Linked DNA regions of Homo sapiens: all the other regions are linked to region 3. Evidence: promoter capture Hi-C in human tissues and cell types (Jung and others, 2019). All regions are on one chromosome and are shown on one strand. The core of a region is centred on a gene start or on the middle of the fragment in contact, and the rest is flanking DNA. Distances in the headings are between cores, read along the strand shown.

Evidence for each region. Contacts are between HindIII fragments. The study calls those that stand out against the background at their distance.
Region 1: a fragment that was not itself captured here is called in contact with the fragment with the promoter of SEMA5A in region 3 in 1 of the 25 tissues and cell types used here (aorta).
Region 2: a fragment that was not itself captured here is called in contact with the fragment with the promoter of SEMA5A in region 3 in 1 of the 25 tissues and cell types used here (mesenchymal stem cells).
Region 4: a fragment that was not itself captured here is called in contact with the fragment with the promoter of SEMA5A in region 3 in 1 of the 25 tissues and cell types used here (dorsolateral prefrontal cortex).
Region 5: a fragment that was not itself captured here is called in contact with the fragment with the promoter of SEMA5A in region 3 in 1 of the 25 tissues and cell types used here (dorsolateral prefrontal cortex).
Region 6: a contact is called between a fragment that was not itself captured here and the fragment with the promoter of SEMA5A in region 3, in 1 of the 25 tissues and cell types used here (aorta).
Region 7: a contact is called between a fragment that was not itself captured here and the fragment with the promoter of SEMA5A in region 3, in 1 of the 25 tissues and cell types used here (mesenchymal stem cells).

The regions. Positions count from the first base shown.
Region 1 is chr5:9,049,789-9,053,600 of GRCh38, forward strand. It overlaps SEMA5A (semaphorin 5A), which reads right to left. Exons shown (of 23, transcript NM_003966.3): 20 at 2,085-2,240; 21 at 622-669. Among named protein-coding and RNA genes, the nearest start is that of MIR4636, 2.2 kb to the right of the region's middle. The HindIII fragment of the contact is 9,174 bases long and covers 1-3,812 here.
Region 2 is chr5:9,152,336-9,156,300 of GRCh38, forward strand. SEMA5A (semaphorin 5A) reads right to left here. Exons shown (of 23, transcript NM_003966.3): 12 at 2,153-2,360. Among named protein-coding and RNA genes, the nearest start is that of MIR4636, 100 kb to the left of the region's middle. The HindIII fragment of the contact is 3,389 bases long and covers 1-3,294 here.
Region 3 is chr5:9,544,809-9,548,636 of GRCh38, forward strand. SEMA5A (semaphorin 5A) reads right to left here and starts at 1,267. Exons shown (of 23, transcript NM_003966.3): 1 at 776-1,267. It overlaps SNHG18 (small nucleolar RNA host gene 18), which reads left to right and starts at 1,392. Exons shown (of 3, transcript NR_045196.2): 1 at 1,392-1,722. RefSeq lists a silencer at 1,201-1,390. The HindIII fragment of the contact is 8,719 bases long and covers 1-3,828 here.
Region 4 is chr5:9,182,184-9,185,896 of GRCh38, forward strand. All of the region lies in intron 11 of SEMA5A (semaphorin 5A), which reads right to left. It overlaps LOC124901170 (a long non-coding RNA gene), which reads left to right. Exons shown (of 2, transcript XR_007059120.1): 1 at 1-1,273. Among named protein-coding and RNA genes, the nearest start is that of MIR4636, 130 kb to the left of the region's middle. The HindIII fragment of the contact is 3,359 bases long and covers 1-2,956 here.
Region 5 is chr5:9,923,924-9,927,939 of GRCh38, forward strand. No RefSeq gene overlaps it. Among named protein-coding and RNA genes, the nearest start is that of LINC02112, 22 kb to the left of the region's middle. The HindIII fragment of the contact is 4,916 bases long and covers 224-4,016 here.
Region 6 is chr5:9,248,484-9,252,396 of GRCh38, forward strand. All of the region lies in intron 5 of SEMA5A (semaphorin 5A), which reads right to left. Among named protein-coding and RNA genes, the nearest start is that of MIR4636, 200 kb to the left of the region's middle. The HindIII fragment of the contact is 4,321 bases long and covers 7-3,913 here.
Region 7 is chr5:9,068,592-9,072,411 of GRCh38, forward strand. All of the region lies in intron 16 of SEMA5A (semaphorin 5A), which reads right to left. Among named protein-coding and RNA genes, the nearest start is that of MIR4636, 17 kb to the left of the region's middle. The HindIII fragment of the contact is 3,533 bases long and covers 1-3,018 here.

The DNA.
Region 1 (3,812 bases), core at 1,308-3,807, 490 kb before region 3:
GTAAGGCACAGACTGTAAAGTCCAAATTTATCATGTACTTGAACCAGATAATGTTGTCTTTGACATTCAGGGTGGCAGGAGGTTTGAAAAATTCCTCTAGCACTATAGGTATAACCTTATGCCTCATTACAATTTAGTCATTTCAGTGGGTTGGAGATTGGAAGCTAGCTGCCATGGATTTGTATTATAAATATAAACAAATTGTTTGAATTCTACTTTACTCATGAAATTAACTATAGTGAATACCGAGACCACTGGTTCATAAAGCTTAGAACCCATAAGAATCACCTGCAAGGCTAATTGAACCACCAACTGCTGGGACCTTCCCATGAGGTCCTGATTCTGTGGATCAAGGTGGGGCCTGAGGATCTGCATTCCCATCAAGTTCCCAGGCCATGCCCTGGACGTGGGTCTACGCACCCCATTTTGAGAACCACCGATCGGTACATCAAATATTGACTATTAAGCCTTTATGCCAAGGTAGAATGCCTGGGATCCATGACTTTCTCCGGTTTTTCATTCTTGGCCAAGAGGCAGAAAAATTATAGAAAACATGCAGGAAGGGAAATGATTAGAATATATCAGTACATCCATTACAACTACTTAAAAGGAATAACGTACCTCCACACCTTTTCTCTTCTACGCTACTGGATCTTGCCACAGATACTTCTGGAAAAAGAAAAGTCGAATCACAATGTGTAAAAGGTGTTCAGAAGACAGTCCACATTCATGCTTCATGTATGTTTGTCTAATGATTCTGAATGTTATGTGACACAAAGTTTCAAAAGCTTGATTAATTATCAGAAAAATTCTACTTGTTTCTTTGCTTGTTTTAACCAACCTGATATGGATTTGGCCAAATCACCTTGACTGGGGAGAGATAAGATTCATTTATCACAGAAAGATAATGCTATGGTCTCTCAGGCTGAAAGCAGGGAATGTGCTCATTTTCCATTACAAGGTGTCTTGCCGGGGGGATCCCCCCACTCTGCCCAACACACAGAGTACTCCTGTGGTATTCCTGCTTCTGAGACTTGTTCCATCAAAGCCAGTGTTGTCACCTTCCCGGCAGAGGGAGGGCCCATTCACCAGAGCTCAAGGACATCTCCAGAACAAGTGAAGTCCCTCTTCAGGAGGCCACTGATGCTCTTGGCATGCCACACATGAAACCCACAGTAGGATGCAGAGAGAGGCCACATCTCATACATGTTTTAACTCCTGAGGATAAAATATCACTCGGTAGTCTAGAAACACCATTCTTTCCTGTACTGATTTTTTGTTAGACAACAAGAATTAAAAATATGTCTATCGTTAAAAAGGAAAACAATAACAACCACTCTTATAGTTCTGTGCCGTACATGACTGAGGTATGGTATGCTAATTTTCTCTAAAATAGTATCTTTTGCACAGACGAAAGAAAACAAAGAAAACTGGCTTATAGAATTCAACTCTACTATTTATTTGTAAGAGGCTGGTCCACCTAACAGTCCTAAGGCACACAGTGGACATATGCGCAATGATCTATGCATTCATATAGCACCTTCTCACAGTGAGCATGCAACAAGTGATCAGCTATCACCAACAACTACACACTGACTTTACCATGAGAAGCTGGTTGAATGAGGGCCAACCTCTTCTCCAACAGGAGAATAATGATGCATTTCTACCTTCTCAAGTATATTAAAGATAGCATAAAGAGAATGGTGCTTTTTCTCTGTGTGCCAGTGCATACACAGCGAGCACTGCCTAAACATTTAACCTAATATTAAAATAACCAAATAACCAAAACATATTTAATAATAACCAAATATTTTCATTTTTTTGAGCAAAGTCTTCTGATTGCATTATAGTTGATAAACTGCAAAAGACACTTTTCCTAAGAAATCTTAAATTCATGAACTGAATTCATGTTTAAATCTGCAGTTATCTATAGACCTACGTTTTAAACACCTTGAAACCATGGGGCTTGATGGAATCATCTCTATTTCACCAAATAAGCCAAATAAAACTCTGACCTATGAATCATTTTCTCTCTCCATGTTGGAAATGATTTTATTCTTACTGATAAATACCTCTGCTCTTACCTGGGATGAAATTAGAGTCAAACACACACGGCCGGCTCTCCGTGGTGTTCCCGGAGCACTGGCTGCCCATGGGGAACAGGAGGATGCACTGGCGGGCGCGGACTTGGACGCCAGAGGCTTCACACTCAGACCAGTCCGACCACTCCGACCAGCTCTCTGCAGAGACCAGAAAAGGGGAGATGGGGCGGAATGGCCAGTAAGCTCAATCATCCTAGACTCACTGGCAAGTTACATATGTGATTTCTGGATTCCAGGATTCCATAGCATATTTTTAATGGTTCTGTGCATCAGTAAGATGTAGTTGTATCATCTAACAGATCCAGTACATACAGTACACACGAGGATGAATAAAAGTGCCTGCGCTGTTATATATTTGATCAGATATCATGAGCTTAAAATAAACATTATTTTAACGTTATAAAGTAATTGTATTTAGACACTCAATAAGTGAATCCATGAGACCCAGCTGTGTGCAGACCATCAGCAGCAGCGGTACATAAGTCATCAATGCAGATGCCATTTTGCTATGGGTAATGCTCCCCTCAAAGAAACTCAAATGCTTTCCTGAAACATTCCTGAAAATTCTCCACCTTCCTCTGTGCTCAGGCGAGAGAAATAATTGTGTGCTCATGAGAGTCCTGGGTTGCTGAAAGGGAGTCTGAAGCTACACAATTACTTTCTTTTCTGTTATAAAAACAATTCCGCAGAGTCAACATGCCAAAGTCAGGTGACCCTTGATGTAGAATTCATCTTATCTCGTGTTTGCTGTCTCTGAAGAGATAAGGTCAATGCACAAGTCTTGGGTCAAGGCCAAAAGAGGGGCATTGAAAGGATACTTCATCCCGAAGTGGAAGATTTACTAGGATGTGTGAAATTCACCCAGGCATACAGATGTGTGAAAAGAAAGGAGTAAGACTCCTATATAAGTAAGAAGGTTAAAAAAAAAAAACTCTGGATATTGTTTATGGAATTTTAATCAGGATAAAAAGGTATTTTTCTATGCAGTTTGCTTTTTTCCCCTTTTTAAATAGAAGCATCCACTTTGTAGTGGCAGGGAAAATTTGAAAATCAAACTTGTGCTTTGCTCCAGTTAAAGGGTAAAATGTTTCCTTAGAAATGCAGAAAGTGCCAGTTTTTGGAATGACAGTGAGAATCTGGCTTTAAGGCCCTTTTCAATATACATAGAACCTTCTAGAAAGATGTGCAGGAGCAAGCTAAAAAAAATTGTGTGTTTCAATGTCAAAGTTAGACCAAGAAAAGAATAGCTCATTTTCATTCCAGGTCATTCCTTCATGTCAGTAAACCAAGCTATTTCTGGGATGGTGGTGGTGGTGGAGGCCCCAAGCGCCTGCATCAGCCACAGGGAGCTTGAAGCGAGGAGCTCCCACACCCACGGGCCCAAGGCTGGCTCCTATGAGGTGCACTTCACAGCGGTGCTCCCTGCTCTCCACCCTGATTTTCAACAACAAAACCTCAGACTCTGTTATTAGGCTACTGGCTTTAAGAATGCTTTGCTATCACCAGTTTCTGTTGTTTGCTGTGCTCCTCCACTTACTGATTTGATGTCATGCTTTTTCTTTCCTTTAATTGCACTACCTCTAAATTACAGCCCATCGACCATGGATGAAGCATCCTGCAAGAGTGCTTAGTGTCCCCTTGTCACATTTTAGAAGTCATTCCTGGAACACAGGTCTGGAGATCTTTGGAAGACATGTGGCTGCACCCAGG
Region 2 (3,965 bases), core at 350-2,849, 390 kb before region 3:
ACCCACTGAACCAACAGCAACTGGAGGAAGAATAATTCCTTCCCTAGGCTAGTTCTGCAGGGAACACAAACCAGAACACATTTCAAGCAGCCAGTGGTTAAATTTAGGAAGTAAGCATATATAAGAATGGCAGTTAATAAATACCACTAGCTGTTATTAATGTTCACAATATCATTATGATTAGCTGGGAGGTTCCTGGCATTATTCCTCAACTCTCTCTCTCATTTCAAAGGAGACATTAAAGACTTCATTTTCTAGAATCATCTTGACAGGCTTATTGCTGTGATTACACATCAAAACCTTCCTTCCACCTAAGAATACTCACTTTGCAGAGTGCTTAAATTTTATACTCTATATATTATCCTATTTGAGTCTACAGCAATTCACATGTGTTGAGTGACAAAGTGAATTCTGAAATACTTTTGCGACCTGGGTCAAGAAACAGCAACAACAGGGCTGGGCGCAGTGGCACACGCCTGTAATCCCAGCACTTTGGGAGACAGAGGCAGGTGGATCACTCAAGGTCAGGAATTCGGGACCAGCCTGGCCAACATGGTGAAACCCTGTCTCTACTAAAAATACAAAAATTAGCTGGGCATGCTGGCACATGTAATTTCAGCTACTCAGGAGGCTGAGGAAAGAGAATCGCTTGAACCCAGGAGGTGGAGATTGCAGTGAGCCGAGATCACACCACTGCACTCCAGCCTGGGTTACAGAGCAAGACTCCATTTCAGAAAAAAAAAAAAAAGGCAACAACAGGTCTGTTCCATGAACCCTAGCTTCTGAGTTCCAAAGCCAGTGTAACTTGGCACCTTGTTTAGAGAGAGAGTGGCCTGTGTAGGGTAGATGTCTGTGAGTGATATATCAAAAAGGACTATTTCTACTCCAAATCTGCAATTACACCCTGCTTTAGGAGTGGAATTAAACAAGATGCCTAAGAACATTTAAGATTCTGATTTCCCCAAGGGCGATCTTTTGTCAGGGATCAGAGTGTATATACAATCTCCCGGAGTAAAGTGCTGGTCAGGTGTGTGATGTATACAGTACTTTTTCATTTCCTAAGTACCTGGGCCAACATGTTTCCAAATTAAACTTTAAACACAACTGTGGTTGATCGTGGATGTCCCACGGAAGATAAGACTGGCCTGAGGGTGAAGGAAGATGCAATGACTCTTGGGTTTCCCTGTGGCTGGAGACCTCCCTCCCTACCCTCTCTGCAGGCTCAGGAGAGAAGCAGCACTCCAGGGGAGCTGGTGCCAAGGACAGTGGCGGGGGAGGGGGGGGTGTCCCGGAAAGTGGGTGCCACTGCAGCAACATCAACCACTCCTTCTTCTCAAGGGGTTATCAGCATATGAGCTGTGGTCGAGAAGGACGTATACCTTATAATATTTTTTGTTATTTCTATATTCAAATAAAATACAAGCTTGAGGCCAGGTGCAGTAGCTCAAGCCTGTAATCCCAGGACTTTGGGAGGCAGAGGTGGACAGATCACTTGAGGTCAGGAGTTCAAGACCAGCCTGGCCAACATGGTGAAACCCTGTCTCTACTAAAAATACCAAAATTAGCCAGGCATGATGGCACACATCTGTATTCCCAGCTACTTGGGAGGCTGAGGCACGAGAATCACTTGAACCTGGCAGCCAGAGGTTGCAGTGAGCTGAGGTCTCACCATTGTACTCTAGCCTGGGTGACAGAGTGAGACTGTGTCTCAAAAAAAAAAAAAAAAAATATATATATATATATATATATATATATATATGTGTGTGTGTGTATGTGTGTGTATGTATGTATGTGTGTGTGTGTATATATATATACATATATATAAGCTTGTGCCAGATTAACATATTAATACAGTCATCAAATATCAGTATTACCACTGAGTGTTCTAAGGCACTGAATAATTTATTTTAACCCTGACAACTTCTTACAGGTATTATAACGTGGCTCCTCCTCTGAGGAGAACTGGTGGGTTATTCTCATCACAGTGAATCTATTTTAATGAAAGCTCTGCATCCTAGAGCACAGGACTCTCAGAGGCATGAAGGGTGGCTCTGAGGCCATTCAACTTCAGGGCATCTGAAGCCTCCCTGGCTCTCTCTGGGTGGGCCCTTCACACACACACCAGTGCATCCTGACCCCGGAGATGCCCTACCTGCGTGTGCGGTAGAACTGGCACCTCTTCAGGGGGATCTTGACCACGTGCTCCCGCAGGCCCACGAACAGGACACTCTGGCTGTGCAGGATCTGCAGGCTCCTGATGGGCTCCCTCCGCCTCTCAGGGAAGAGCTCAATCTCTTCCAGCAAACAGCTGCTTGAGGTCTGATTCAGGGGTACCCGCACTTTCTTAATGGTTCCGTAATCTATGAAGGTCACAGGATGAAAAGGAAACAAGGTCAGAGGGTCTCACAAACCAATCCCTGGTTAAACAGAGTGTGCTGTGTATGCAGCCATGGATCTTCAGCCAGGAAAGCCATCTGAGCATCCTTCAAAAACAGTACACCTGGACACCACTGCAGACCAGTTAGGTCAGCTGCACTGGATGTGGGGCCCAGGCAGCAGTATCTTTTAAAATGATGCTCTCATGTAGCAAGGGATGAGGACTAATCATGTCCGATTGGACCCTTCCAGTTCCAAGTCTCGGGATGGAGAGCTCAAAGTAGCAAGCTTTGTGCCATCCCATGGAAAACATCAGGAAAGAAAGACCCTCAAGGGACGATCTTGGATTCTTAGTGACAGAGATGCTGATTTTGGTGCCCAGCAGGGCAAGGAAAATGCAATGTGATTGGCAGCTTCAAATATCCAGTACGACTGTGATGCCCCCTCCTCCTTCCTGCCACGAGAAGTACACCCTCCTCCATCTCCCTCTCTCCTCTGTCTACATTAGCTCCTTCTTTCCTCCTAGTGCTTGCTCTTTGGGATGATTTTCTTGGGCTCAACTCCTCCAAACTTTCTTTCTTGTGCTTCTGAGTATTAATTTCTGGCCTGATCCAAGCCCTCCCCGCTCCAGGCTTCTTGCTCCCTGGGTGTTTCTGTGCACTTATTTATCTGCTTGACTGCTAGCACTGCTGGAGGGTGAGCGGCCCCTGAGCCATGCAGCCTTCCCAGCTTAGGGGGACACACAGTTGAAACGAACATTGCTCTCCCAGGTACCCTGTGCTGCACCCCGCAACTCCTTGCTGACACCCTGCAAATCCCAGGCATGAAATCCAGCCTTCTGGAAGCCGCTTAGAGATCCACTCAAGTACCTGGAATCATCCTGAAGGCCCTGACTGAATAAAACCTTCCATGATCCCGAGTTTCAAAACATCATGGTTCTTATTTTGCAAACACAGAAAATGAGTTTAAGGAGTTATTCTAAAACCAGAAGTAGTCAAGAATATTTGACTTCAAGGCCTCCTATCAAGCAATTCATTGCAAAAGACCTTGGATAAAATACTTTACATTTTTCTCTCTCTATGAAAGCCATAGAGATGGAGGCTATTTGTGTTTAAAAAAATACATAAGCAGACATGTTTTAGCCTGAATTTACTTTAAAAAGCATATCTGAAACATCTCCAGTGAGCATTTTCTGATTATACACTGACTGAAAAATCATGTAGACAGTATTGGCAAACAATTGCTTGCTTTCATTTTAAGCTAACTGGTTAAATATGCTACTTTTTAAAAAGGTCAATCATACACTGAAGTATGCTATATGCGGGGAAGATTTTAAAATGATCTTGAGGAAAGAGCATGTATTTGTGTTCATGTAAAAGGGTGAGGACAAAAGAGAGAACGAGAGAGGGAAGAGAAAGGGGCAGCTGTGGCGTAGAGAGGCAGACATTTTAGCAAATTCACAGTTCACAGATGTAAGCATGTAAGAAAAAATTTATGTCTTAATTCTATAATTCAAATTAATTTTGACTTGGACATCACAGTTCATAAGCTTGTTGGAAAATTCAGCCTCAATGATTCTTAGGTCTCTC
Region 3 (3,828 bases), core at 17-2,516:
CGCCGCGGGGAGCGAGCCGGGGGAATCACTCCTCCACGACCGTTCCCACGCACATCTTGGGAGAAACCATTCCCTCTGGAGCCCGATCTGCCCGAAACCCTGGGGTCTGAAACCCTGAGCCGCGGTGTGCAAAATCCGTGGAGCAGCGGAGGGATGCCTGGTGAAAGGGGCTCGCCTAGCTGCAGCGCACCTGGCTGGTGGTTCCCCAGGCCTCTGCATCCCCCGCCTTAGTGTCTTTCATTAACCAAGGCGCTTGGCGGAGTTGAGCCCAAGTCCCATTGCCTCCCGGTTCCCCTGTAAGGAAAGCAGGAAAACCTGCCCAAGCCGGTGGGGCTGCGAGGTGGCCGCTCCCGAACCGCCAAGTCCCGACCTCCGTGTCCCCTGCCCCCGGCTCGCGGCAGTGCGAGCCTGGAGGCGCGCCGGGGGCGGGCACAGACCAGTGTGCGCACCTTTCCGGGTGTTGGGCAGGGGTCCCGTCTCGCCCACCGCGACACTCCGGCTCCTTACCTCTCCATGCTCAGACCTCGGCACAGGCGGGTACACAAACTTCCAGCCCGTGCACTAGCTCAACTGTGGGCGCCCCCGGACTGACGGTCGTCCTAATCCTGTACGCGCAACCCCCGCCCAGGTGCCTGCTGATGGATCCCACCCGAGATCGGCACCACCCACCAGCCGACCGCTGCAGTCCCCGGGTCCCGGCCAGCGGCGCGGCGCGGCGCGGCGCGGTCAGGGGCTCCTGCCAAGGCCACGCAGGAATCGGGCGGGGGTCGCTCACCAGGTGCGAGGAGCGCTGGTGCCAGTCATCCAGCGCCTGGGGGCCAGAGCGGCTCCGAGGATCCTCTTCAGCACCTGGCTAGGGAAGTGGAGGCAGCAGCTGCAGCCGCCCCCTGCCACTTCCCCAGAGCCGCCCCCTACTCGCTGAGTTCCAGAATGGGGGCACCGGCTTGGGGGCCACGAGCACGGTCCCCGAGCGCGCGGCCAACCGGTGGGTGGGCAGGTTCGCGCCCAGCAGAGACGACCCTCGAGGTGGCAAAGTTGGGTGTCCAAGCCAGCTCCGCGGGGCAGTCCTGGGTGGGAGAAGGGAGCGTCCCGGGATGAGCGACACTGGCCGGGCCGCCCCTGCACGGGGAAGGTGGAGGGCCGGGGCTGCAGCGGGCCAAGGGCCGCGGCTGGCCTGAGGCTGCGAAGCCCACCCGCGGCGGGAAAGCAGCGCTCGGGAGCGGGCTCAGGGAGAGCAGCCGCCACCGGCGCCGCCTTCCCGGCAAGTAGATCGGCGCGGGGCGAGCGGGCGCGGAGAGCGCGGGGCGGAGAGCGCTGGGCGGGGAGCGGGGGACAGCCTGGGCCCACCCCCGCCCCGCCCCGCCCCTGCCCCGCCCCCGCCGCCGCGCCGCCTCCTCCTCCTCCTCCTCCCCGCCGGGGTGAAACTCGAGCGCCCCACCCGCGCCTGACCTCCCCGAGCCCCTCCCCGGGCCCCGCCCCTTCCCGGTACAGGACCCCCACCTTCGCTCCTGGGAGCCCCGCTGCACCCCAGGAGTTCCATTCCAGCCTCCCCAGTGCGAGTGCGGCCGAGCGCTGACTTTTGGGGGCTCCCTCCCCCGTCTCACTGGGTCCCTCTGCGGCTCCCCCGCCCGCTGTCCCGGTTCAGACGTGGCTGCACCCCGGAGGGGGGCGCCGGCCGAGACCTGAGACGTGGCGCTCCCTCTCTGCCGGCCTCGGCTTCAGGTACGTGCGGTTCCCTCGGCTAAATCTGGCCCGGGGGATGGGGGGCAGGGGCCGTCTGGTCCTCCGGAACTCGAACTTTGTGATTTTGTTCTTTCTGTGTGACATCCTCATCCGTTCTGAGGGAGAAACTCCTTAAAGAAGACGAGAGAGTCAGTCGTTGCGGGTTCTTGGAGGAGCACTTTGGGGGTGAGACTCCCGGCTAGTTCGGGTCGATTTCAGCGGGATTAAGTCAAGGAAATGAACAAATCTGACGAATCAGGGAGGCCAGAGAAGGCGTCCCCAGGTAGCCACGCTGAGCGTTAAGAGAGAAGTCCCGTATGGTCAAAGTCATTCGTCCAATTCTGTGTCAATTATTCCTTGTTGCACTTTTGCAGGATCCTTGGGCCTTACTAAGTACTCAGGTGAAAAGTTGATAATTGGGAAGCAAGTAAAGTACCTTTGAAGACGTGTATAATTGGACACTTTGTTGCAGTTCTTCAGTTTCTGGAGGAGGCGGTGGGGGGGGAGAGGGAGGGGGTCAGCCTCGCGAAAAGAGCAAATGGTAAAGTTATAGGAGTATAAGGCATAAAACTTGGGTTGGGAGTCCTGACTGGCCTTGAGTGGCCCTTTCCCACTGGATGGGGGTGCGGGACAGTATCTCTGGGCCCTTTTTACTCAGTCTGCGCCTCAGAGGGAGGCTTGAAGGTCCCCTGCATGAGGAAATGTGTGAATTGCCCCCTCCTGACCGCAGTGAGGTAGGGACCCCCGCAAGGACCCACGTTCACACCAGCGCCCTTCCAGCCAGTGGTGGGGTATGGATGGGCCTCGCTGGTCCTGGGCATGGTCCGGTGCGTCCATAAGGGTTCCATTGAGCTCATCCATAAAACAAAGAAGCTATTGCAGGCTGCAGGGTGTCATAGCTCGCACAGTAGCCATGCAGACCTAAGAGGACAATGGAAATACAAATTGCTATCGATGTGTCTTTATTTTCTAGAACTTTTTTTTAAAATAAAAGAATTAAGTGAAAGCAATTCCGAAGGTTTCTATGAAAGCCCAGCCCATCCCCAAATGCCCAGTCTCTGGCACGGGTGATCTGGCTGTCTTGGGTACTCAGGCCTTACTGGGATTTCCTTTAAGACCTCTGGGAGGAAGTGTCAGTAGCTGGGCAGGCCTTCTTGGCAAGCATTCCTCCCTGGGTTGTGGCGGGGGCTCCCGGCCTGCTGTGTGGCAGCTGCAGGCTCCTGGGGACCTGAAGGAAAAGCTTAACCGTTCTCCCTTCCCTTGCTTGGCACTTAGAGCACTAGTTCCATTCCAGACATTCCGATTATCTTGCCTACGTGGCACAGAGGCCTAGGAGCCTCCCTGGGAGGAAGAGGCAGGCCAAGGTCTTGCCTGGCTGCTTCTAGGGGGAAAGATGTAGGGAGGAAGCTGCCTTATGCTTGGATCTGCAGCCTTTGCCTGGACCTGTGGAGCCTACGTGGCCAGGGTGAGGGAGACAGAAATTAGAACCCAATGTATTCAGCTAATCCTCTTCTTGCCTCTGAACATTGCCGTTAATACTTGAAAAGAAAAAAAAAAAGCAAAAAAACTCTTGGCATATAGAGCTAAGCAGTGGGAAGAAGATAGCTTTCTAAACCATGACCCAATAGGTCTGATAACATAACATTTAACTGGATAAATTACATAATTTTGTATATATGTAGGGGGGAGTTGAATTCAGTTTTGCTGTTTACAGGCTGCACCAATGCATTGTTAAAAGATGTATATTTTAGTGATAATTGTGATTAATTACAAAATAATTGCTAATAAGCAGGTAAATAAACCAAATTATAATTTAGAGTGCATCCTTTGTTTAAAGTGAAATGGATCTAAATTGAGGATATAATTTTGAGTTTTAATCTGGGGAAAGTTCTTTAACTTTTCTGAGCTACAGTCTCTTCACCTGGAGCTTAGACACACCAGCCTGGCAGGGGTATGTCAGCTGTCTGCTTGAAAGGAGAAAGACAGTAATCTGTGTGAAATACTCACCGAGCACCCAACATATAAGCAGGCTCTTCATAAAGTCATTTTGAGGTATCCACAAGTATTTCTTTTTTCTAAACAAAATTTCTTTGTTTTTTGTTTGTT
Region 4 (3,713 bases), core at 27-2,526, 360 kb before region 3:
ACAGGGTGTCTGTCTGTCTTGTCCATTGCTGAACCCTCTCCAGTGAATTTTGGCACAAAAACTCCAGTGTCTTCTTTTCAGCAAAGGCCACGAGAAGTATCAACTGTCCAAACCAAAAACATCAGGAGTCATTCTTAATTGCACCCATTCTCTCACTCCTCCAAAACACCTGCTGCATCTGTCAGCTTCTCTTCAAGAAATTAACCAAGAGCAGCATTTCTCAAACTGATAGGTGTTCCATTATCACTTCTACAAGAAGACTTCTCACATTTTTCCTGATTGTCCCCTCACCCATGAAATTTTACTACAGATATTCTGTACTGTATATTTGCTTGTATAGTCCATGTCTATTTGAATAAAAATAAGATTTTTTGTCCCCCTAAGAACCAATGTTTGCTTCATTGAGGGTGACATCTGCCTATCTTCTGGCTGAGCATGCCATGCTCACCTCCTCCTAGACCACCTTGATGACTTCAATAGCTTTGACCCCAGCCTACTCTTCCTTACTCAGTTACAATGCAATGACATCTAGAATGCCTGCTTATTTTTATACAATGGCGGATCCTGTAGCAATACAGTACTGTTGGTTTAGAAAGAAATTGTACCCCAAACTTTACCCTCCTTCTACCCTTTTTGTTATCCTCTGATTAATTCTCCAGGATGTATAGATAGTAATCTTTGAAAACATGCATCATATCATGTAACTTCTTTTCTTTACAGAACTTTCAGTAATTATTATTATGCTTAGATTAAAATCTGAATTTTTAAACATAGCTAGAAGGCACATATTAGCTATCCCTGCCTGCATCTGGAGCCTAGAAACTCTACAGGGTTGAATGAACTCCAGGCATTGTTGGATCTCTTACTGTGGTTGCCTAGAAAACAGAGGGAAGGATTCAAGTATTTGGTGCTAATGCATTACTGGGGGTGCAATCCCAGGGCTGTGTGGTGAGGGAAAGGAATAGGGAGCAGGAAAGAGCAGGAAGTGGTGCTATATGATTTGTTACCATGGGGCTCTTCCTTTATGATGAAACAGAAAGAGACATCTGCTTGGCTACATGAGAAGCCTGCCCTTGGACAGCCGCCTGGAGGTGAAAATGGAAGGGGAATTCACCAGTTGCGTTCTGCCCATACCCGACATCCCTCTGGGTGAGGCTTGCTTCATGGAGAGTTCATCCTCCTGCACTTCTGGGCTGCAGCTACCAGCTCTTCCAGCACCTGCTTGAGAAGCCATATCCCACTCCCAGAAGCGTGCGATCTCATCCAAGCCCAGGTGCAGCAACAGCGCCACAGACGCCTGACCACCAGCTGCTCAGCATCAACTGGAGGAACCTCCTGGTCCTGCCCAGGAATCTGTCAGCCACGGGGGCAGCTGAGGCAGAGCAAATGGCCAAGGGTTCAGGGTCAAGTAAGGCTGAGAGAACCTGCGGTTGAACTTACGACCTGACCAATGAGCGGTCCTTCTCTGTTGTCTGAGCTCATTATGCTCCATTGCACCCCAGAGCCTTGGCTCACGTGACACCTTATTGCTTCTTCCTCAGATAGTAAAATGGGTCCCCAACACCTCACTTGCCCTCTTTCCACAACGTCTTTCCTGAGGTTTTTGTTCTGATTTTCTTCTTTGGCTAGCAGCCAAGGTTGTCTGTTTTTGAAGTAGGAATCACAGATACATTATCCCTAAATTTTCCATGTACCTTTATTTTTGATGGAAAGATTAGCCTAGAATAACATTCTTGAGTCACATTTATTTTCCTCTAATGTGTGTATATATTGTTCTACTTGAAATCTGGTATTGAGTGTTCCCCTATTTTGGTTTTACTTTCTCAAACCTTCTCTCATCATTTGGCTGAATTTAGCCCCTAATTAGTCTTATTTCATGTTTGTAAAAGAGATTTTTGGTTTTCTATTCCTTGAGATTTTCATTTTTGTGAGTGTCTGTTTTTTTTTATTCTTGGATGAGTATAACATGCTCAATTCACATTTTCTTTTTCTCAGAATATTGCATAACCATGTTTCACAGATTTATACAGCTGCAGAGTATCCTGAGACCATGTGATTTTTTTTCATTTTTAGTTTTTTTTTTCCTCCTCAATACCTAAATAATTATTTCTGTATTCTTGGAATTTAAAAACTTACCTGGCTAGTGTTCCTTTATTCTGAATTAATATTGCACAAATACAGTATGCTTTGAAATTTGCAGACTCAATTCTTCCTTTATTGCAGGGTAATTTTCTCCAATAGTGTCTTTGGGCACAAGTTTTTAGCTCCACAGACAGGGTTCTTTGGTTCAAAGACACCAATCACTCTGTGTGGTCCATTGTCTTTGTGGGTCCTTCATATTTAAAACCTTATCTTTTATTTCTACATTTTCCACCTTAATCACTGCAAACATTTACTCTGTGTCTAAGCTTTAGCTGTGTTTTTGTTTCCATGAAGTTTCTAATTTAATTTTTACTCTTGTAGTAGAATAGCACGTCATTTTGATCTTCTATTTATTCGCTTATCTCTGTGAACTTCCTTTTCATCTCATTTTGTTTCTTTCATCATTTCAACTCTGGGTACTGACTTTATTTACATTTCTCTCCCTTTTTTTTCCAAGCAAAGTAACTTTGTGGCACATGTCCTGCTCCTGCTGGGATGCCTTCTATTCCATTTGCTTTTCTGTAGACTGAAGTGACAGGACAGGGATGCAGAGAAGGAAGCTCAGCCCAGGCTCCCTCTTTGTTGAAGGTCTTGAGCCTTCATATTTTTTTTTCCTTTTTGAGACAGCATCTTACTCTGCTTCCCAGGCTGGCGTACAATGGTGCAATCCTAGCTCATTGCAGCCTCAAATTCCTAGGCTCAAGCAATCCTCCCAACTCAGCCTCCAGAGTAGCTGGGACTGCAGGTGCTCACCACCATACCTGCCTAATTTTAAAAATGTTTGTAGATGTGCAGTTCCACTATGTTGTCCATGCTGGTCTCAAACTTCTAGCCTCGAGTGATTCTCCTGTTTTGTCCTCCCGAAGTTCTGGGATTACAGGTGTGAGCCACTGTGCCCAGCTCTATTTTTTGAGATTTCTATAAATATTTCATTCCACAATACAATTAACCTTGGGGCTAGGGGAAGAGAAGGAAACAGAGGTGATAAACATGGCACAATCTCACATGAGTTCAGCAGCTAGAAGCATATAAACCTCTATATGAATGTTTCCTGCTTTATATTCATCTATTAGCTGCCCCTGATTTTTCTATGTAAAATTTTGCAAGTTTGAAATGAAAAACAATGATTCAAAATGTGTGTGTGTATGTCTTCTTCCTTTACATTTCTTTAGTGCCTGATAGGTGTTTTTATATAAATGTTTATGAATTATCCTCTAACTAAAACAATTTATAAAATATAACACAAAAAGAGATCACATTCCTTTTAAAAAATATATTTATTGAGATATAATTTGCATGCCATAAAATTCACCCACTGATTTTTAGTATATTCTGAGTTGTGCAATTATTGCCACAATCTAAGCTTAGAACATTTTAAGATTATATACAATTTAAGGTTCAAATGCTTTTCTAAACACTAGAATTGAGTTAAAGTGAAAATAAAAATGATATATCTCATCCTAGAAGGGAGAATAGAAAGCCCAAGACTGAATGGCATTGTGGGGGAGGGAGCATAGAATTAGAACAACCATGGCCATGCTGTGGAAAAAGCCCAGAGCGGCAGCCACATG
Region 5 (4,016 bases), core at 1,432-3,931, 380 kb after region 3:
TAAGAAATGTTTGTCAATAGAATAGAAATTATATCAATAGTAAGCTATACAGCCATCAGAAATGATGATATCCAACTATATTTACAGACACAAAAAAAGGTCCTTGACATATATTTAAAATTAAAAAGCAGAGTTTGCAATAGCATGTGTGATGGTTAATTTTAATATGTTAACTTGACTGGGCTACAAGGTGCCCAGATATTTGTTCAAACATAATTGTGGGTATTTCTGTAAGGATGTTTTTGGGTGTGATTAGCATTTAAATTGGTAGATTGAGTAAAAGAGATTGCCCACCCTAATGTAGGTGGGTCTCAACCAGTCATCCAAGAACTTGAACAAAAAGACTGCCCCTACCCCAAATAAAGAAGATTCTTCCAGACTGACTGCCTTTGAACTGGGACATTGACTTTTTCCTGCCTTTGATCTTGAACTGAAACATTGGCTCTTCCTTGAGCTTGCCAGCCTTCAGACTAAAACTATACTGTCAGCCCTATTGACTTTCAGGCCTTCAGACTCGAGCTGGAACTAAACCATCAGCTCTCTTGAATCTCTAGCTTGCCAACTCACTCTGGAGTGAGTGAGATATTGAAACTTGCCAAACTCTATTATCATGTGAGCCTATTACTTATAATAAATATCTTTCTGTGCATACATATACCTCCTATTGGTTCCATTTCTCTGGAGAACCCTGACTAGAACAGTGTATAGTAGGATCTCATTGTGCTAAAATATTAGAACTATGTAGATCTAGTTTCTGTAGTGTGCCCAGTTTGTTCATGCCTCCCTGTATTCATGCCTTTCTATGGTTCCTTTCACAATGACTCTAGGCTTAGTCATGCAACTTCCTTTTCACCAGTGAGACAATAGCAAACATGACTTAAGCAATGACTTGAAAAGTGCTTGCGTATTGGAGTTGCCTTTCTGCTGCTCTTGAAACCTGAGACAGCCTTGTGAACCAGACCAAGCAGCCTCGTGCAGCAAGAGAAGCCACTGAAGAAAGGATTTAGCTCTCCTACCCATGCTAGTCAAGACCCATCACCAGCTCACTGCCCACACAGGACCAAGCTCAGCTGAGGTTGAGGGGAGCTGCCCCCTCCCACTTCCCTCTCACATTCTGAACAGGCGACACCACCTCTGGGTGCATCTGACCCCTCATTCTCACTACTGAGCACCCATGGACTGAAACATGGTGGCACATTACTGCAAATCATGGGCAACTTAACACCACCATTCAACAGCTGCAGTCACCTGAGACTGGCCTGGACCAGAACTGACCAGCTGAACCCAGCCCAAATTGCAACCTTAATAATTGCAGACTATGCTGAATTTTTTTTATCTTGCCCAAATTCCTATCTAAGGGGTCTGGGGAGTCATACCCTACAAACTATAAATTCTCACCAGATGGGTTTTATTTAACCCTATATATCGTGACTTACTTTCCAAATCCAATATGGCATATAACACTATGTGACAAAGAAGAAAGTCAACATATTTTATCCCAAAACATGTTTCTTTGCCATATTTTAAAATGGTCCTGCAAAGCTGTCCTTTCTGGGTAAAAATGTACATTTGTAAAGAATCTCTATTAACATAGCTAGATCTTTTTCTTCCAGGCCTCCCAATCCTCAGGAGATTAAGTAGGAGTCTAACACCTTTTACAGGAAACATTTGTCATCTATTGTCTCTAAGGGCAGCCACTGTAAGACTTCAAAAGAACCCAGGTCTCCACAATCTTTTATTTTAACCTGAAGGTTTTCTTTCTATTGATCCCAGGTCTTTAGACAAACTCAACCAATTGTCAGTAGGAAAATGTTTAAATTTACCTATAGCCTGGAAGCCCCTCCCACTTTGAGTTGTCCTGCCTTTCTGAACCAATGTGTTTCTCAAATGTAATTTGATTGATGTCTCATGCCTCCCTAAAATGTATAAAACCAAGTTGCACCCCAACCACCTTGGGCACTTGTTCTCAGGACCTCCTGAGGGCTGTGTCACAGGCCATGGTCACTCATATTTGGCTCAGAATAAATCTTTTCAAACATTTTACAGAGTTTGAGTCTTTTTGTTGACAGAATCATTTATTAAATGGTTAGCATTTCAAGCCACTAAGCTTTGAGATGGTTTGTAATGAAGCAAAGACTAACTGATATGTTACTATAGAACAACAACAACTAAAAAAAAAAGCCTAGAAGGCTATATCCTAAATTGTTAATAGTGGTTACCTCTATGTAGAAATTACAGATGACTTCTGGTTCATTCTTTTTAGCATCTCTGCATACTGTTTATAATAAGTGCATATTATGTCTGCAAGCATAAAAAACAATTAAAATCCATTTCATTTTGAAAAATAATTTTTAAATTGATCTCTCCCTTCTTAGATTTCCTGCAGTAATTACTGTTTGCATGACTAATTCACCAATTAACCATGAAGTGTTTTGATATCAAAAACTGATATTTAAGGCTTTCATTGTTATTTGACTATGGCAATGGAACATGCAGTGATACTTTTTAAAAATGCTGTGTATCATCCATAGTTATTAAGCCTATGACTGGCATACAGCATGGAGCCACCAATGATATTATTTACTTTGATTTGAAATCACTGTTTTGTATTAACAAATAAGGCAGAGTAAAGAGTAGAATATCTGCAAGAAGAGGAGAGGTCCTGGCAATGGCAGTGTCCAAAATAAACCTGAGTTACCTGAAAACTCAACACCAAAGCATTTAGTGCCCACTTGCAACTGCCTATGCCCTGTGGTAAGAGTGGGGATTCCTGTGGCCATGCCACGATTCTCTGCTCAATGTCCAATTTCAAGCTTAATTCAGATTGATTTAAACATGCATATACATATCTACCAGAGAATTAAACAAACCATGGAAATTTAGAATACAAATTAAAATTTCTTCTAGAGACCTAATCTGGAAAAAGAATAGTATTTGAAAACTAGTAAAGCAAACAATGTAGAAAAAATGGCTTAAGCAAAAAGGGTTCAGATGTGAAAGAAATCATCCTTAACTAACTTTCCAGAATTTAATTTTTAAAGAATATGGCCAAGAAGTCAAAATTTATTCACCTCCATCGAAGTTGATGAAGAAATGTAAGAAAGCAGGTGTTATGTAGCTTTATTTGATTTTTCAAAAAGACTCCATGTAAAGCTTTAAGAGAGAGAACAAAATAGTAGATGACAAAAACTAAGCAAATACTAGATTAAGAAACTAAAGTGAGCCTCCCTTGCCTTCAACTTTGAGTTAGCAAGGAGAGTCACTGGCTCCTTCAAGGAGCACTGCCACGCATCATAAAGCTAAGTGGCTCTGACAAGGATCTGAACAACAGGGCTCTAAAATCTGCTGACAACACTAAAATGGGAGTTGCAAAGAAGAATGAGGAGCTGTGTGACCAGGTTTAAAGGAATCTCAATCATTTAGGTAATTGGGCCAGCAGATGGCAAATGCAGTGCATTCTGGAAGACTGTGAAATAATTAGTCTGAAAGACAGAAGCTAATCTAGTAATAATGATCTTCCATTTATGTAGCATTATTTTTTACAAAGCACCTTTCACCAAGTGGTTCCCATAGTGCCTTCTGTAATGATCATGCATGGTATGTTAATGTGTTCACAGTGATAGAACAGGCACTCTTGGTGGAACAGTGTAATCTGCACGACTGTCGCCCAGAAGAGAAGGTGATGCCCGAAGGAGAGGTGGGAAACTCCCAAGGTGATTCGCCAAATAGAAATACCTTTTGGACACTAAGGTTAGAGAACTAAACCAGCAGGATGTTTGCTTGAATTTGAATGATGACTCATGAAGGATCAGAATGCTATTTCCTTGGGGTGAGATTAAAAAATATGTGTGTACCAGGATTTAGAGGTTTATCTCTAAATAAAGGCTGAAAGAATTTAGCTTTATCTTTCTAAAATGATAAAAGCACCACACATCTTTTTTTAAAAAAACAACAACTACTTTCAGTTAGCCAAGTGAAACTTTTCAGTTTTGTAAATAATTCCCAAGGTTAAACAG
Region 6 (3,913 bases), core at 917-3,416, 300 kb before region 3:
AGTAGGATGAACACTGGTCCCTTAAAAGATATCCATCATCATCTCTGCAACCTGTGAAGTTAACTCATACGGCAAAAAAAAAAAAGAAAAAAGAAAAGGACTGAAGATAATTAAATTAAGGATCTTGAGATGGAGACATTAATCTATTATTCAGGGAGCATCTCAACATCACTGAAAACATTCTCATATGAAGCAGGCAGAGGAAGATGCGGAGCATACAGAGGAGAAGGAAATATGACCGTGGAGGCAGAGATAGTGATGAAGGAGCCTCAAGTCAAGGAGGCCGGCAGCCACCCGAAGCCAAAAGAGAAAAAGAACAAATTATTTCCCCCAAACTTCTGGAGAAAGTGTGGCCCGGGGGACCCCTTTATTTTAGTCGCATAAGAATTAATTTGGACTCCTAGCCTCCAGAACTGTGAGAGAAAAAATTTCTGTTGCTCTAACCCACCAAGTTCATGATAATTTGTCACAGCAGCCATACAAAACTAATACATACATACATACACATGAATTACACACATGAACACAGTCACACTCAAGCGAGTTTAGGAGCATGGGGTGGACATGTTAGTATCTGTGTGTCCATCTACCAAACATCTGGGCCAGGCCCATTGTACGAAATTGGAACATGTCATCCCAAAATATGCCTTTGTCATGGGATTATTTTGAGCTGATTATTTTGAGAAAGCCTAGACACAGGAGAAGCTCTGAAAACAGAGTAGAAATTGTGTTTGTGTAAGGTAAGCTTACATCTATAAAGGAAATCTCTATTTGTAAGGGTGTCTCCCCTACTGTACCAGGAAGAGAAATATGATCCTGGTCAGGAGATAAGTCAATGGAGAAGCCACTGACTTAAATGTGCACAACAAACCTTACTCCGGCTAACCATGCCATTTCTGGTCACGTTGCCATTACTTACCTCTCCCACACACTTCTTTCTTTAATCTAGCTGAAGATGGTATTTAAGCTTGAATTCTAAGATATCTCTTTGAGAGTGACTCATTTCCCTGGGTATCTCCCGTGTGTGTAAGACATAAACATATTTTTATAACTTGTTTTTCTATTGTTAATATGTCTTTTGTTACAAGGGCCCAGCTGAGAATTTAGAAGAGTAGAGGGAAAATTATTTCTTCCTGCCCTACAATATATATGAAAGATGTAGTTGTTGATATAAAAGACCTCTTAAGGAAAACATGCTGTGATCTTGGGCGTCTTGAAGGGGAACACTCAACCCAGATGTAGGGATCTGGAGATGGATGAAGGAACATTTCTTAGGGAGGTCAAGGCTTGAGCTGGATCTTGAAGCAATTGACCAGTGAGTGAATAAGTGGAAGAGTAGATGTTCAAGAAAAGCAAATGAATAAGCTGGTGCAAAGGCCTGAAATGGGAAGAAAGGACATCTAAGCTGGAGAACTGGACCCCAGGGTGGGGATTGGAGAGGTCTCTGGCTACACGCTGATATGCAGCTCAGGACAGGCCTCCTGAACCATGCTAAAAGAAGTTAGTTCAGATTTATTTTTCATGAGTTGAAGAAAAGCCATGAATAAAATTTTAAGCAAGATATTGGCATGGTGAGAGACAAGTAGTTGAGAAAGACTTCTCTGTGGGTATAAGACCTGGAAAGCAGTGTGGCTGTAGTGGTGAATACAAGGAGAGTGATGTAGAGGTCATTGCAGGCAACCAGCAGGTAGGCATTGGGAACCTGAAATTAGCAGGGACAATAGGGATAGAAGAAGGGATGGGTAACCAGCAATTTAGTAGTGGGAAGGGCACTGTCTTTTGATCATGTAGATGTGTGGGTGGACAGCAGTAGCACAAGTCTGCCTAATCTACAGTATGAAACTAATTCCCACCCATTCCTTAAGCTGGGTTTGGACTGAATGCCACACACAATTCTGAACTGCTTTCTTTCCACCCCCATAAGTAACTTTAACCTTAGACAAATAAAACTACCTATACGATCCTGTTTAAAGAAAACACAATAAGACAGTAAATCTTCCAAAATAGCAAAGTAGTTCAAGAAAAAAGACCGAATTCATACAATGTTTTGATCATCACACTTTTAAATCAAACACACTTTAGTTCATTGGTAATACATTCTGGATTTTTAAAACAAATGGAAAACCAACCAAAGAAAATCTTATGAATCACATGAAAGTTACCTTTAAAACTGTAGGAATTCAAAGTAATTCAGTACAAGAACTTCTTTTTCAAAGTAATACAATAATGATTTATTTGTTTGGAATTCTGTGTCCTAAGTCAAGCAAATAAGATATAAAAAATTACACAAACATAAATTTCAAAATGAGAGAAAACTTACAACTCTTGACTTCCAAGACATTTAGCAAAGCTAAAGAAGTTGGAATTTAAAAGTGGAAAAACATAAGAAAAATAGACTAACAAATTAAGATTTTCATATCTATTAGTATTACATTTTTCTTAGATTTTCACATGCTATGGTTTTAATGCTCCACCAAAATTTATGTTGAAATTTAATTGCTGTTGTAAGTATTAAGAGGTAAGACCTTTAGGGGACAACTAGGTCTTGAGAGCTCTGTCCTACTAAATGGGACTAATGCCATTGTCTCAGGAGTGGGTTAGTTATAACTGGAGTGGGTTTCTGAGAAAAGGATAAATTTGGGCTAGTGTTCTCCCTCTGTCTCATGAGCTTTCTTCATATGATGCCTTCCATACTAGGATGACTCTAGTCAGAAGCTGGCACCAAACTCTTGGACCTCACAGCCTCCAGAACCATGAGTCAAATAACCTAATATTTTATATAAATTACCCAGCCTATGGTAATCTAACAGCAGAAAAAGTGCTAGACATCACATCTGAGAAAAATTCTGAAAAGAGCCATGCTATTAAATGCTGATATTAATTGTCTCCAACCTAGAAGAGGGAGGGCATTTCTTCCTTAATCAGCCAACTTTAGAATTCACACTAAAGTTTCAGCTGTACTGTGTCTCAATTATAATTCACAATATCAACAGCAAAAATTCAATGCTATTTTCTAAAAATACTTTAGGTATGACTCTGATTTCTCAAGTTTTGACTATGACTATGAGTCATGACTACCAACATTTAGATCAGCACTATGAGATTAACCAGAACCAATATGTAAATGTATACGGCAGAAAGCCATCAATCAATCTGGAGTGGACACAATGTTTCCAAGTGTAACTATAATAGAGGAGCAAAGCAAAAACAGAATCCTGGAATCAGACAATGTGTGACAGTACAACAGCCTAAAAGAGCTGCCGGCAAGACATATTGGGAAAGTTAGTCCAAAGGAGCACATCCATGCTCAAGAGATAAGAATGAATCAACTCCTGATGGGGAAGATGGCTGGTACTCTTCTGCCCATCATAACTAACTCTACCCTCCCAACAATCTAGGGTATAGGTACCAGTATTACATTCATCTTACACAGTAGGTAGAAAGGAGCTTAACAACTTGCCAAAGATTACTGAGCTTTTAAATGGATGGCCTGGGATTATGAAGTCAGGCCACCCTGGCTGGCTCCAGGGTCCACAATCTTAACCCACGTGCGATGGACTCTTTCAGTGAATGAGTTGGCAGGATCTCCCAGATTCCTAATTCCTTCCTGTCTCACCAGAGTTCTATTGACAGATTGAGTTTGTTTGCTTTGAACTTGTCAGACAAAATAAAATGTGGTGCTTTTGAAAGGCCCTTGGTGGGAAAGCGGGGAATGAAATGGTTTGGCTGGAGAGAGAACACTACTCCACATCTTCACTACTGAGATTTCAACCCAGTTGTTATGATTTCAGTGCTGATTTCACAAAGTCATCGATTCGAAAGCTTCCCCCATTCCCACCCTGTAATCTGAACTCTGAAAGTACATGGAAAACACAAAAGTAAACTTAATTGTGAATAGTCTTATTATTCTGCA
Region 7 (3,820 bases), core at 2-2,501, 480 kb before region 3:
CTGCTGGACAGAGCAGGTCTAGTCCCCTTGGTGGAGTGGGAGAGAGGTATGGAGGTCTGATAACTTCTTAAACAGAAGTCACCCAATGTTGTTTTGCCACTAACAAAAAAAATGGGGCTGTGGATTCCTAAGCTCTCTGAGGGGTCTCTGGTGTGCATTGAGATGATTATTTTCATGTATGTGCTGGGGGTCCCCAAGATCCCTCCAGTTTCTATGATTAGATAGCAGGATCCATAGGACTCTGTGTGCAGCAGTGTTCTCAGCTAAAATGTATTACGGTAAAAGACTACAAAGCAAAATCAGCAAAGAGAAAATGCACATGGGGTAGAAGTGCAGACAAAGCCAGGCAGCACAACCAAGAGTCCTCTCTCAGCAGAGTCATGAAGGATGTGCTCAGGTCGCCCAGCAGCTAGTTGTGATGACGTACAGGGAAGGTGGTCTACCAGGGAAGCTCACTGGAGACTTGGTGCTCAGGGTTTTCACCGGGGTCTGGTTGCAGAAGCATCCTTGTTTTGCATGTACCAAAAGTTCAGATTCCCCCAAGGAAGCTTTCAGTATACACCACATTGTTTGTACAGACAATTTAAGCACAGAGAGCCATTCTTGCCATCTGGGAATGGTAGAAACCTTCCTGAAATCCAGATTCCCAGATGCCAGCCAACAGCTAGCCTTGCGAGCAGGCCTTTCTAAGAATCACAGGACTGGGAAGCATTGTCTTCCACATAGTTCTCCTCTGTTAGACTTGAATTCATGCTTCTTCGATGTATTTCCAGATTCTACTTTTTAAAAACAACATGGTTCTTTCTCTTTTTTTCTGACTTTGCGCATTCATGCCTTGAAAAATCAACCCCTCTAACACTGTATTAGTATGTTTCCAGTGGGATAGAAAGCAACTTGTGTGTCCATGCCACCAACTTTACCTGGGAACCTAATACAATCTTTATTTTGTACTGTTTTAAATACTCTAACTAGCTTTCTTTACTCACAATGCATTTATTTTTTATTTTTTTTACAGCGGATAACACTCAGGATTTTTGTGACATCATAGGCTTTTAACAGAAAATATGTAAGGCGATCATCGCTGTTTCTTTGATTTAATACTCTCTAGGCATTCCTCCCGGCCTGCATGATCTCTACATCAACAAATACTAGAAAGATAGATGACTTCATTTTCTTGTGTTTATAGCATCTTTTATTATGGCATCTTTTGAATGCTGCCTCTTAAATGAAAAAGCCCCAATGAATGCCATAAACCCAGTCATGTGAAAAGCCAGGCACAACGCGTGTGTGATCTCTTTCACTTGGAATGAAAACCACATGACAGGAAAGCCATAAACCCTTGTCTTGGACCCTCTGTGCCTCTAGTGTGGGGATGCTCTCACCTCTGGATTGAGAATGTCATATGCCACTGCCCTTCCCTCCCTCACTCCGAGCCAGCCTGGCCAGATAAGAATCCTGGAGTTCCTTGCTGAAATGGGCTCAAAACACATGCAGCTCGGCCATGCGTGGTGGCTCACATCTGTAATCCCAGCACTTTGGGAAGCCAAGGTGGGCGGATCACCTGAGGTCAGGAGTTCGAGACCAGCCTGGCCAACATGGTGAAACCCTGTCTCTACTAAAAATACAAAAATTAGCGGGGCATGGTGGCAGGTGCCTGTAGTCCCAGCTACTCGGGAGGCTGAGGCATGAGAATTGCTTGAATCTGGGAGGCGGAGGTTGCAGTGAGCCGACATTGTGCCACTGCACTCCAGCCTGGGCAGCAGAGTGAGACTCCATCTCAAAAAAACAAACAAACAAAAATCATGTGCAGTTTATGGGCCTCTGTTTGAAAAGTGCTGGTCTTTAGGTCTTAACAAATGCAGCATTACCTATAAATTAGTAAAATCCTACATCTTCATAAACAGATTTATAGGATACCACCAATAATTCTTAGGTTTCCCACACTGCAAACTTCATTCTTTCTATGGAGATGAAGTTTAATTTTTGAAATGTATGAGGGGCAAATGTGTTTGAAAGCTGGCTCAAGTGTCTGCATTGGCATCTGTGTGTTGGTCCCAGAGGTGGGCACAGCTCACGGCTAAGAAAGATCAGTTTAGTCTCTTCAGATCTAAGCCTCCAACAACAGTCTGTTCTTATGTTCTTATTTTCTCATGGTTCAAAATTTAACATGAGACTCAGAATTTCTCCTTTCAAGTGCTTTTTGAGGTTTAATTATGATACATTCACTTGAAGTATCAAATTATGAAATGGTGAGAAATGGTATGGCCAATTTGTTTTATCTTAATGAGCAAAATCATGAAGTGATTTAATTCTATTGTGATCACTTATATGGCTTAACTGAATATGTATGTTACAATTTACTAGAGAACTGCTGCTGTAACTATCCAAATGTAAATGGAACTTTAACAAAACTGCACTTAATACTAAAGAGATAAATGATTTTAAAAAGGATTTCAGGAAGCTAACTATTATGATTTGGCACCTAAGGTTCTTAATATTCTGGTGCAAAATATGAGATAAGAATGCTTACTAAAGCAATTATAAATAATTCCTCCAAATATGTTCCCCACGTATTATGTATTCCAGTCAACAGTGATAAAAGCACTCATTTAAATGTTTAATCCTGCAACCCGGGAGACACTCTGCCAGTTCTCCCTTACTTCTATGCCAAGTACTACAGTCATGGCTTCCTGTGTTCCTTCTGTCCTCTCCATCTTAATTGCCTCTTCTAATTCAGGCCCCCATCACCATAGGCCTGATTTAGAGAATCAAAGCATGTAGTTCCTTAAAGCTTAAGTGCCTATTTATAATTCTGCATCCACTAATAGACTGCAAATTTGTCAAAAGCAAGAACTTTGTCACGTTTATTTTATATTACCAATCTTGGGCATAGTAACACTATTTGGTAAATGGATAAATCATATTGATTAAGTAACAGATAAGTCTACTGAGATGAAATTTGCATACATTTGGGGAACAGATTTAGATAGTTAAGTGGGACCTCCTGTTTTGCTGTTTATTTTTCCCTTGAGAAAATTAAAATATCTCATATTTCATACATTGCAAGTAAAGTAGAGAGACAGAGACAACCCAAGCAGAATTTTGATACCACATGCTCAGAGTGAAGCCCAAAAATTACCCTTCAAGTCATCTCATCCACAACTGAATATGTAAATCAAATTTATTCTCATATGGAATACTTATGGTTTCCATATGCATTTATCAAGTTCTCTTTCAGTAACTAAGCTTGGCCTGCTGAGACTGAAAGCAATTCACATTAGAGAAATAACAAAGTAATTGAATTGTGCTTGCAAAGAGCCAAAACACTCAAGTATCTACATGGAAGTAGAACCATGCTCCCAGGAGCTTGTGGCAAACAGAACAAAGATTGACTGGAAGTTCTGGAAATTAGTTTAGTTGTACCCAGTAAGGAAGGTATATAAAGGAATGTGGTGCATTCAAAATTATATGGTCACAGAGTGTCTTCTGTTTCCCACCAATATGGAGTAAGAGAAACTGGATTAACCCTTTTATCCAAATAACAAAAAGTTATATTAAATAATGGTTCTTAAAGTACTGGACTTCAGGCAATGAAGGTCAGTGATCACTGAGTAATGGGAGACAACTTATGGGAGACCCATGAGTGCCACAACCTACAGCCTTGAGAAGGTTCCCAGGCCACAGCATGGGGAGCAGAAACCCAGGCACAGGCTAGAGACTGAGAAGACAGGTTTGGGAGCTGGAGAATGCCAAAGTGGCTGAAATTATTGGAAAGGAGAAAGTTGCACAAAATGAACACACCAGTGATGTGCAAAAATCA